Regions from separate parts of the Homo sapiens genome. Here region 2 is linked to region 1. The links are contacts of gene promoters, found by promoter capture Hi-C in blood cells and fetal thymus (Javierre and others, 2016). All regions are on one chromosome and are shown on one strand. The core of a region is centred on a gene start or on the middle of the fragment in contact, and the rest is flanking DNA. Distances in the headings are between cores, read along the strand shown.

Region 1 (5,610 bases), core at 1,603-4,102:
CGTAATAGCTGCTACCTGGTGGCCCTCCCGAGGGGCTGTACCAGGAGCCTGAGTGCCCACTCCCCACACCCTCCTCCACAGATGATAATACGTGGTTTTTCTTTTTCCTTCCTTCCTTCCTCCCTCCCCTCTTTCTCTTTCTCTTTCTCTTTTTTTTCTCTCTCTCTCTTTCTTTCTCTCTCTCTCTTTCTTTCTTTCTCTCTCTCTCTTTCTTTCTTTCTTTTTCGTGGCAGGGTCTCGCTCTGTCTCGCCGGAATTCCTGTGCTTAAGTGATCCTTCCACTTCAGCCTCCCAAGTAGCTGGGACCACAGGCACACACCACCATGCACAGCTATTTTTATATTTTTAGTAGAAACATGGGTTTCGCCATATTCGTCAGTCTGGTCTCAAACTCCTGAGCTCAAGCGATCCGCCTGCAATTCAGCCTCCCAAAGTGCTGGGATTACAGGTGTGAGCCACCGTGCCGTCATGATTTTTCAGCGTTGCAAAGCTGATGGGAGAAGAGCGATTTCTTGCGGGGCTTGGATCTCAGCGGCTTTCAGATGTCCGAATGGGGTGGCAGGCTTGAAGGGAACACAGCAGCCATGGTGCCAGGCAGCTGCTTTGAGGAAGGTCAAATTCCCGATGTCTAACCAAGCATCTCCAGTTCACCAGCCGCCACCAGGCCTTTCTGGGGAGAACAGTGGCCTGCCTGTAAGGCCCTTCTCACATTTGTACATCCCAAGCCACTGTCGCCCAAGCTCCATAAACAAGCCATCTCCCTTCAATGCCAGCAAGCCCCGCGGTGAAGCCCCTTGCCAGCACCGAGCTACAGCCCCTCAACAGCGTCCTGTTCCAAGTCTCAGATGTGTATGAGCCCCATGATGCAGTGGGGGCACTGGCCGCGTTCCCTCTTCTGAGTCCTCGACCCAGCTTTGCCTGCCATCCACCCTCCCTTCCTCTGACTTCAGCACCTCTGATTTCCTGTAGAGAATCCCTTCCAGCCCAGGGCTTCAGCTCACTTCCCTGCCCCTGGCCCCACGATCAGGTCCTGACCCAGAATCCAGAGAGAGGTGGCCTTGGGACCATTGGTTGAGAAAGAGTCTGTCTCTGGCTGGGCCTGCTGAGGGGGAAGGATGCACAGGAGCTGCCCTGGGCCGTCTTTGCCCCACACAGAGATGGACTGAGAGAAACCGCGTTCTGACGCTGTTGCTGTGAGACTTGGTCCAGCCCTGCCTGACTTTGGCACACGCTAGGACGCCACCGTTTCCTGAGCCCATACCCATACGCTTCCTTTCCTTGACTACAGCCGCTTTGGCTGGGTCTCTGCTCTGGAAACCAGGTTGTCCTGATGCACTTGGTCAAAATCCCGGATGAGGCCAGGTGCGGTGGCTCACGCCTGTAATCCCAGCACTTTGGGAGGCCAAGGCGGGCTGATCACCTGAAGTCAGGAGTTCAAGACCAGCCTGGCCAACATGGTGAAACCCCGTCTCTACTAAAAATACAAAAATTAGCTGGGCACGGTTGTGCACGCTTGAAATCCCATCTACTCAGGAGGCTGAGACAGGAGAATCATTTGAATTTAGGAAGCAGAAATTACAGTGAGCCAAGATCGTGCCACTGCACTCCAGCCTGGGCAACAGAGCAAAAAAAAAAAAAAGAAAGAAAGAAAAAACAATCCGGGATGTCCTGTGAAAGTCCCCACCTCCTACAGGTGATCCCATCAGTCCGAACCAAGGTCATCTGAAGCAGGTGTGGAATCACCCTGTTCAGACCGGGCCAGGGAGGCTCTGAGGGCAGCAGGGACAGGATGGGCCAGAGTACCCAGGGAAGCGGGGGGGGGGGGGGGGGGGTGGTTGGGGGGAGTCGGCCCTCACAGGAGGGGAGGGGCACCACTTCCCTGAGACCAGTTCTGGTAAAAGGGGCCGAGCCTCAGTTTCCCTGTCCGTAGAATGAGACCTCAGTCCTGACAGTACCAGCTGCGATTTGGGGTGGTGGAGCAGGAGGGCCTGGGAAGGAGGGGAAGCCATGCTGTCCAGCACGAGGAGAAGCTGAATAAAGGCAAGGGTTACCCTTGAACCTCACCCCCTGCCCTCTCCCAAGATCTCCCACTCGGTGGGCAGCCTGTACGCAACTTGCACGAGTTCAATCCACACAAGCGCCTGCTCGGGCTCTGACCCTGGCTCTGCCGCTTGCCCGCTCCAGGACCTCCCATAAGTTACTTCATTTCTTTGGGCCTCAGTTTCTTTGTCTGCGAAATGGAAATCATAGTTTTCATCTCATAAATGTTGTAAGTAAATGAAATTATTTATGTAACTCCTGGGCATGTGCCAGGCACACGCTGCGCTCCAACAAACATTACAAGTTAACATTCTCGCTCCCAGGCCCGCAGGGACCGCAGAGCCTCCGCCGAGGACCCCAGCCCCCCCAACACCCGCCCTCGCCCTCCAGTCCCCCGCGCCCCCCAAGCCCCACCCTCCCTCTCCCGCGGTCCGCGGGCTCCACCAAGCGCCCACCTGCTGCGCTGCGGCGGCGGCTCCGGGGCCTGAACCCGGGTCTGAACCCGGGCCTCGGCGCCGTGGGGGGTGGACCCGGGAGCGCGGCCGGAGAGGGGAGTCAGGGTCAGCTCCCCGCAGGCGCCCCGACCCCCGCCTCCGCGCCCATCCCGCGCGTCCCCGCCGCCCCAAGAGCGTCCTAAGACACCCGGGGAAACGCCTTCCCTGTGATGCCGCGGACCCAGTCCCGTCGCGGACACGGCGGGGCGGGCGGGGGTGGCAGCGTCCGAGGCGGCGCGGGCCCTTTAAGGCGGCCGGCCTCGTTAGCATACATTTGCATGGCCCCGCCCCGCCGCTTGAGGCTGCCGCGCGGGGCTCAGTCCGGCGGGGGCGCCGCGGAGAGCGGAGGGCGCCGGGCTGCGGAACGCGAAGCGGAGGGCGCGGGACCCTGCACGCCGCCCGCGGGCCCATGTGAGCGCCATGCGGCGCCGCGCAGCCCGGGGACCCGGCCCGCCGCCCCCAGGGCCCGGACTCTCGCGGCTGCCGCTGCCGCTGCTGCTGCTGCTGGCGCTGGGGACCCGCGGGGGCTGCGCCGCGCCCGCACCCGCGCCGCGCGCCGAGGACCTCAGCCTGGGAGTGGTGAGCGCGCGGGCGGGACGGGCGCGGAGCTCCTGGGCCGGAGCCGGGGGTCTCCGCGGGCCGGGTGGCGGGGACCGGGAAGACCCCAGCAGTGCACGTCGGCGTCGCGCGGGAGCCCTGGCGCCCTGGACCCATTTCCTGGGTGGGGAGACTGAGGCAGGGACGCGGGCTGAGCGACCGGGCGAGCGCACGCGAGTCCTGGGGAGGCGCCGGCTGCCGTCCCGGCTCCGTGCGCTGGGAGCGCGCCGCAGCCGCAGGAGCCCGTGGAGTTGTGAGGGGGTCGCCCACCCGGAGCCCGGGTCGCCGGCTTGCAGCAGCCCCGGAGCAGCCGGGCTGGGCGAGAGCAGGCATCGCGGCCGCCCCGAGCTCTGCGCGCTGCGTGCGTTCCGGGTGGGAGTGGCGGGGGCAGGAGCACGCACCCACAAAGCGAGGAAGGGCAGGGGCTACGGAGTGGGGGCACCCCGAAAGCCTTGAGCCCCCGAGTTTGCTCGGTTGAGGGTGTTGGGGGCACAGGGATGCTGGCCCCCAGCTCCCCACTGGACAAGGACCTGGCCCTCAGCCTCCTTCCCCTCCACCCCAGGTCGGCCAGGCTGGCCCTGCCTTGCCCTGGTACAGTGCTGAGCCGGGGGCGCGGGGAGAGCCTTCCTCACTCCACACCCAGTAGCTGTCCCCAGCTCAGCTTAGAAACCCTGCCTGGGGGCAGCGACGTGGCCTCTTCCTACAGCCCCCTCCCCTGTTCCGCAGCCGGGACTCGCGTCTCCTGTGGACCCGGAAGATTTAGAGCACACGTCGTGGGGTCAGCGCCCCCCCGCTGGGGCGGCCGGGTGAACTCCCGCTGGGTTCGTTGGTTCCTTCTGAGGCTCCTGCCCCACCGCTGCCTTCAATGGACTCCTACCCAGGGAGTCGGGCCAGGAGCCGAGGCCTCCCCGCCCCACACAAGTACTCGGCCTGGCCCTCGTCCGCGGACAGTCTCCCAGTGGGGTCCTGGCAGGGCCCCTCGCCCAGCGCAGTGGACATTCAGGAGCTCCAAAACCTTGGGGTCCAAGCAAGTCAGCGCAGGTGTATTTCAGGCAGTCGAGGCATATGGAGGGGCCACTTGGGTGGCACCCGCAGCCCCTGTGGTTGGCAGGACTTGGCCAGGGGGTCTGGATGGGAAGCCGATTTGGCCACCGTTTGCCCCAGGCCCCGAAGCCATCTGGGAGGGTGCTGGCCACTGTCCCTGCTGCCCGCGTCCAGGTGCCTGCAGGTCCCCACAGTGGCTTCCTTCCAGCCAGGCAGCCTGTGAACTTGGGGTGCCCCCCTCCACCTCCTCAAGACCCTTTTGTAGGTGCGGATCTCCCGGATCCCCCACTGAGAATCACGCCCTGGGGGCCTGGGGTCTCCAGCTGTGGAGGGAGGTGAACCCAGGCCCGCCTTCCAGGTCCGAGGGTGCCGCAGAAGGGGCCGGGGCAATGCCAGGGAAGGACTCAAGGTGGGGCCCACACACTCAGGAGGATGGACCCCCGGCCGAGCCATGTTGGCTGATCAGACCCAGTGCGGTTTGGAAGTTTCTCGCCACCCACCTGCCCCCCTGCCCGGAGAGAGTGGGTCAGGCGCCCTCCTCTCGGCTGGTACCTGCGCCTCGGTCTCTCCTGGCACCCCGGGGGTCACCCGCCCCGCGCCCTGCGACAGCACCGAGCGGAGGATGTGGCTCCCCAGCCTGGCCGGGGGCAGTGAGTGGGGCCCCGGTGTCCAGCCGGAGAGGGAGGACGCTGCGGGCAGCCCCCTGCCTGGAGCCCCGCTCCGTGTCGGGCCCGGCCTGGCGTGGAGCCTCCGTCCTGCCGCGGCTTCCTGCTCACACTGGCGGTGCGGGGCGTCCTCTGCTGGCCCTCGGGGAACCGCGGGCCGAGCTCAGGCCCAGGGGCGGGCGGCTTCCCCGCGGGGAGGGACGAGGAGGCCGGGATCTGGGCGGGAGCGGGGACTCCTCCTCCGCCCGCTCGCCGGAGGCGCTCCCGGAGTGGACTGATATTCAGGTCTGGGCGCCAGGGACGAGAAGTGCTCCTTTGTCTCAGAGCTGCAGACAGAGCTGCACCCAGCAGGGCTGGAGCCGGGGCTGGAGGGGAGGGCCCGCCCCGGAGCGCCCCCCGTATGCACGTGAACAAGGCCGGGATTCAGGCTGCTGGGCTGCGGAGCCGGGCTTTCAGGAGCCCCCGGCGGGGACAAAAGAGCGCACTGTCCCCCCGGGGGTCCTTGGCGGGGCTGCTTGTCCTTGTGGGCCTGAGTTTTTTGTCTTTCTGTGTTTTGAGTACGACATACAGCGAGCAGCCCAGGGTCTCCACAGGCGTCCGCCTCCCTCCCGCCCCTGGTTCCTGGGCACGGATGGGACGCGGCTCTCCGTGCCTTATTTTTGCACGGTGGCACCGTGGGCCGTGCGATTGCAGCTTCGCACGCTATCTGGAGTGTCTGTGCCGGAGCCGCCCGTCTATTCACCTGGTTAAGCCAGGCTCGGCCTGCAGCC
Region 2 (5,534 bases), core at 1,399-3,898, 160 kb after region 1:
ATGCACATCAGGGCGTGGGGAGCCCACTGCAGAGAGTCTTCCCTTCCTTTTGCCTTCTCCCTCACTAACAAAGGAATTTCCTAGGTGGGCTTTAAGTTCAGGGTTTTTGTTTGTTTGTTTTGAAACAGGGTCTGGCTCTGTCACCCAGGCTGGAATGCAGTGACACGATCTCTGCTCACTGCAGCCTCTACTTCCTGGGCTTAGATGATCCTCCTGTCCCTGCCCCCTGAGTAGCTGGGACTACAGGCGCACACCACTACACCTGGCTGATTTTTGTATTGTTGTAGAGATGGGATTTCGCCATGCTGCCCAAGCTACAAGTGCTTTTTCTTTTTTTTTTTTTAGACGGAGTTTCGCTCTTGTTACCCAGGCTGGAGTGCAGTGGCCCGATCTCGGCTCACCACAACCTCTGCCTCCTGGGTTCAAGCGATTCTCCTGCCTCAGCTCCCGAGTAGCTGGGATTATAGGCATGTTGCCACCATGCCGGCTAATTTTGTGTTTTTAGTAAAGACGAGGTTTCTCCATGGGTTAGGCTGGTCTTGAACTCCTGACCTCAGGTGATCCGCTGGCTTTGGCCTTCCAAAGTGCTGGGATTACAGGCGTGAGTCACCGCACCCGGCCTACAGGTTCTTTATGTTTGAGATTTATGGCAAAGTCTTAAGTATATAACGATGAAATAATAGTAACAATAATAGCTATCTCTTATTCACCACTTGTGAGGTGTGGTGTCAAGCACTGTGATGAGCGATTTATTGGCATTGTTTATTTCCTTTACCTGACAACCTTATGAGGTAGAATCTTTACTATCTCCATTTTATAGATTAAAAAAACCAGAGGCCAGAAAAGCCAGCAACTGGGGGGGCTGTAGTTGGGAGCCTTTTGTGCAAGTCTGCAGGGAAGCCTTGTACACCCACTTTGAGAAAGGCGACACATGCCAGGGCAGCTGAGCTCTTCTAGGCCTTACATTGCTTGCTTTAGGTTTTTGTGGAAATGATTCTATTTTGAACACTTCCTCACATCGAGCCACATACTGACTTAAAGCAGCTCCGTGGTTTTTCTTAGATTTAATTTACCTGCCTGTGTTACTGAAAAACTCAGCTGTGGAAAATGGTTTTATTTTATTTTATCTTTTTTTTTTTTGAGTCAGAGTCTCACTCTGTCCCTCAGGGTGGAGCGCAGTGGCACGATCTCCGCTCACTGCAACCTCTGCCTCCTGGGTTCAAACCATTCTCCTGCCTCAGCCTCCCGAGTAGCTGGGACTACAGGCATGCGCCACCACGCCCTACTAGGTTTTTTTTTTTTCCAGCAGAGAAATGATTTATTTCACAATTTAGCTCTCTAAATAACTTTATATTCTCTCCTTAAGAACAACAGTAGAGGAAATCATTTACTGATCATTTTACAATGCACATAATATCTTATGCATGCTTAGGCAACTGTTTTTTTTTTTTTACTTTTTAGTAGAGATGGGCTTTTGCCATGTTGGCCAGGCTGGTCTGAAACTCCTAACCTCAACTAATCCACCCACCTTGGGCTCCCAAAATGCTGGGATTACAGGCGTGAGCCGCCACACCCAGCCTGGAAAATGATTTTAAAGAAGCGCTTTACAAAGTCTGTAGGAACCTGTTACTTCTAGGTTAGCCAGGGTTGGCACACTTTCTCAGTCAAGGGCCAGGGAGTAAATGTTCCAGCTTTGCGAGCTGTTCAGTTTCTGTGGCAGAAGTGAAGACACAGCCGCTCACGGACAGCACGTAAGTGGATGTGGCTGTGCTGTAATAAAGCTTCATTTCCAAACGCCTGTGGCCAGCCGGGAGACGGCGCTGCCGAGGTGAAGAAAGCAGACCCACGTCGTGGGACGGGCGCTCAGAGAGAGTGTGCTCTAGCGGTTCTGTCTCCCTTCAGCTTTTGAACGGGCTAAATCTTGTGTGAGCCTTCACTCAGCCCACCTTCCCTGCTCTCTGTGAATTTAAGTCACAGAGTCGCAGCAGTTCTCTGTGACTTTAAGTCTGTCGTTGAGGTGGTGCGAAGAGGAGGACTTTTCTTTTTTTGAGACGGAGTTTTGCTCTTGTTCCCCATGCTGGAGTAGAATGGCGCAATCTCAGCTCACCACAACCTCCGCCTCTTGGGTTTAAGCAATTCTCCTGCTTCAGCCTCCCGAGTAGCTGGGATTAATAGGCATGTGCCACCATGCCCGGCTAATTTTGTATTTTTAGTAGAGACGAGGTTTCTCCATGTTGGTCAGGCTGGTCTTGAACTCCTGACCTCAGGTGATCCGCCCACCTCGGCCTCTGAAAGTGCTGGTATTATAGGCGTGAGCCACTGCGCCTGGCCTGAGGAGGATTTTTTAACCCTTTTAGCCTGTCTGCCATGAGAGAGGCACACTGAATTTGTATTTTATTTTATTTTATATTTTGTTGAGATAGGGTCTTGCTTCGTTGCCCAGGCTGGAGTACAGTGGCACAAACATGACTCACTGCAGTCTCAACCTCCCAGGCTCAAGCAGTCCTCCCACCTCAGCCTCCCATGTAGCTGCGACCAAAGGTGCACACCACCACACCTGGCTAATTTTTAAATTTTTTTGTAGAGATGGGGTCTTTCTTTGTCAAAGCCCAGGCTCATCTCAAACTCCTGGGCTCAAGCAGTCCTCCCACTTCAGCCTCCCAAAGTGTTGGGATTACTGGCATGAGCCACTGGGCATGGCCTAAAGATAGTTCATAATGAAAACTCCTATTTGGTTTTGTGGAAGTGGGAGGATGTATTATTTGTGGACACGTTAGTGTTGGGCTGTGGATACGATGTGATTTGTCTGCTTGCATCGTGGAGCGGAAGGTGCTGGCAGTGCGCGTCTCTGGTGCTGTGGGCGCTCAGGTATTTGGCACCGTGGGCTGCCCCGACATCTTTTCTTCACCTTGCTCCACTTGTGCCCTGCCCTTACAGATGGTAGCATCGACAAGGCTCCCTGTGGACCCTGCCCCGCCCTGCCCACGGCCTCTGCCCACCTCTTCTACCTCGTCCCTCGCGCCTGTGAGTGGCTCCGGCCCAGGACCCTCCCCTGCTCGATCCTCTCCAGTAAATAGACCTTCCTCAGCCACCAATAAGGCACTATCTCCAGTCACTTCCCGGACCCCAGGGGTGGTGGCATCTGCCCCCACCAAACCACAGAGTCCTGCTCAGAATGCCACCTCGTCCCAAGACAGTTCTCAGGATACGCTGACAGAACAAATAACTCTGGTAAGCATGCTTAAGAAAGTTGTAAAATGTACTCCAGTTGGTGAAGCACATTTAGTTTTAATTGTCAAGAATGTGATGGCGTAAAACCGAATGCCTGGTCAATTCAGCATGGCTTGGGAATCAGTAGACACAAGATGAAAACCAAGGGTTAGCCTTTTCTGTTGGAAGCAGACTCATGGGGGCAGTCTGCGTTTTTGTGATAAAGCCTGCAGTCTTGGGCTGCTTTCATATGGGCAGTAGACGAGGGTGGGAGAGGTCACGTGTAGCAGTTAGGCGGAGAGGGACAAGCTTGAGCGCTGGGGCCCTGCAGGCTGTGAGGTCCCTGCAGCCACCAGTCTGCAGCCCTGTGTTTGAGAGTCACTGCCCAGCCCTTAGCACTTACTTTGGGTTGGATGACTAAGCATTTATTTTGTTCAACTTCATTAGGGGAATTAAAAGAAATGTGTATCAAAATAGAGTGTCATAAACCCCATGTTCCCCATTATTTGATTTTATCACAGTGATCAGTATGCAGCTAGTCTCATTTCATTTATCCCACTCCTTTCCAGATTATCTAGAAGCAAATTCCAGACATCCTATGGTTTCCCATGTAAACACTTTGGTAGAAACATGAGGTTTTAAAGTTTTAGTCTGTTTTATAGAGCTGGGGCAGGACTATTGCTCCAGCTTCTTCTAAGGCTCCTGGAAGGGTCACATGCTCCTAGACCTCTCCTAGAACCACTTTGACCTTTGTGTTCGAATCTTACCTTTGATATTAAACTGGGACCTTGTGCTTTCTCTCTTTCTTAGTGCCTGACTGAGCCTTTTGCATAGTAGGGCTTCAAATTTCTGGGGTCTGAGTTGGTGGAACACACTCATCACATGCCGACCCCACCATCCCCCATGTATCATCTACAGGAGAACCAGGTGCATCAGCGCATTGCGGAGCTGAGGAAAGCAGGTCTGTGGTCCCAGAGGCGTCTGCCAAAGCTGCAGGAGGCCCCACGCCCCAAGTCCCACTGGGACTATCTGCTGGAGGAGATGCAGTGGATGGCCACAGACTTTGCCCAGGAGAGGAGGTGGAAGGTGGCTGCTGCGAAGAAGGTGGGTTGGAATGCGTGGAGCTGCTGTGCTGTGTGCGTTGGTGGGGGCTTGAGTTTGCAGTGGTGTAAGTGGTGGGGAGGTCTCCAGACCCACTTTTTTTTTTTTTTTTTTTTTTTTTCCCCCAGACAGGGTCTTGCTCTGTTGTCCAGGCTGGAATGTCCAGCTAATTTTGTGTTTTTTGCCACATTACCCAGACTGGTCTTGAATCCTGGGCTCAAGTGATTGCTCGCCTCGGCCTCCTGGAGTGCTGGGATTGCAGGCGTGAACCACTGTGCCTGGCAGACTCACTCTAGAGGCCTTAACCTGTGAAGTCTGGGAAGGATACTTCCCTGTTGTTTGGAGAATAACTGTGCTGTGTAATTAAGTCTCTGAGGTGGTGTCTTCAGAGCCCAGCATGCGTTGTTGGGATCAAGCCTGTGCTCAGTGCTCACCCACTAAGCAATGATGTGGATTTAGCTTCATTTTGTTGCCTGGCTTTGCCTGGCAGTTGGAGTTAGGATACCTGCAGTGCCACAGGTTCAGGCTGGTGGCTGGGGCTGTTCAGGGAGCTGAGAGGCTAAGAGTTAGAAGGCACCTGGTATCAGTCAAGGGACAGCAAGGGGCTGTCCTAGGCTTTCCTGCCTGGCCACACGGCCTCCTGCCCTTCCTCCTGGGCTTCTAGTCTAGCTTTCTCTTTAATTTTGGCTGAGAATTTATTTTTCTCCTAACTGTTGCCAAAGCAGGCGCAGAGTCCTTGGAAGACTCTGGAGGCCCTACTGCTAACACTAGAAAAGTGAGAACAAGTGGTAGATTTCTAGAAACCCCAGGCCTCAGTGGGAAGCAGCTGTGCTTTCACTGTGTGAACAGCCGTGGCCCTTCTTTATCCTCCTCATTACTGTGTCGCTGCCTCTGTTTCTTGGGCCCTAGGGTCTTTGTTCATATTTTCTGTACTCTTAACGCTATGGCCTTGTGTTCCATCCCTTGCCCTGTCCACTCCGTACCCAGAATTTTCCCCCTTGCTGTCTTCATGTAGGGTAGGCAGAGAGAAGCTGAGACCACAGGGTGAGAACCGTGGGGTTCTGAGGGTCAAGGGTCTCAAGTCAGATTCATAAGCATTCCAGAAAAACCCAGATTCTTCCTTAAACCAGCCTTTCCACAAAGAAGATAGTCCTGAACATGGTGGACACCAGGCTGGATAGGGCAGGAGGCCAGACGTGTAGATGCCAGGCTGGACATGTGGA

Evidence for each region. Contacts are between HindIII fragments. The CHiCAGO score rates a contact against its expected background, and 5 or more counts as called.
Region 2: a contact is called between a fragment that was not itself captured here and the fragment with the promoter of MMP17 in region 1, in 2 of 17 cell types (monocytes and neutrophils). The highest score is 7.0, in monocytes.

The regions. Positions count from the first base shown.
Region 1 is chr12:131,825,541-131,831,150 of GRCh38, forward strand. MMP17 (matrix metallopeptidase 17) reads left to right here and starts at 2,853. Exons shown (of 10, transcript NM_016155.7): 1 at 2,853-3,113. The coding sequence starts at 2,955. RefSeq lists silencers at 2,718-2,847, 4,837-5,096 and an enhancer at 4,580-5,189. The HindIII fragment of the contact is 25,913 bases long and covers 1-5,610 here.
Region 2 is chr12:131,983,577-131,989,110 of GRCh38, forward strand. EP400 (E1A binding protein p400) reads left to right here. Exons shown (of 53, transcript NM_015409.5): 6 at 2,938-3,231; 7 at 4,129-4,314. Among named protein-coding and RNA genes, the nearest start is that of EP400, 36 kb to the left of the region's middle. RefSeq lists enhancers at 2,455-3,074, 3,747-4,397, 5,048-5,534. The HindIII fragment of the contact is 1,738 bases long and covers 1,780-3,517 here.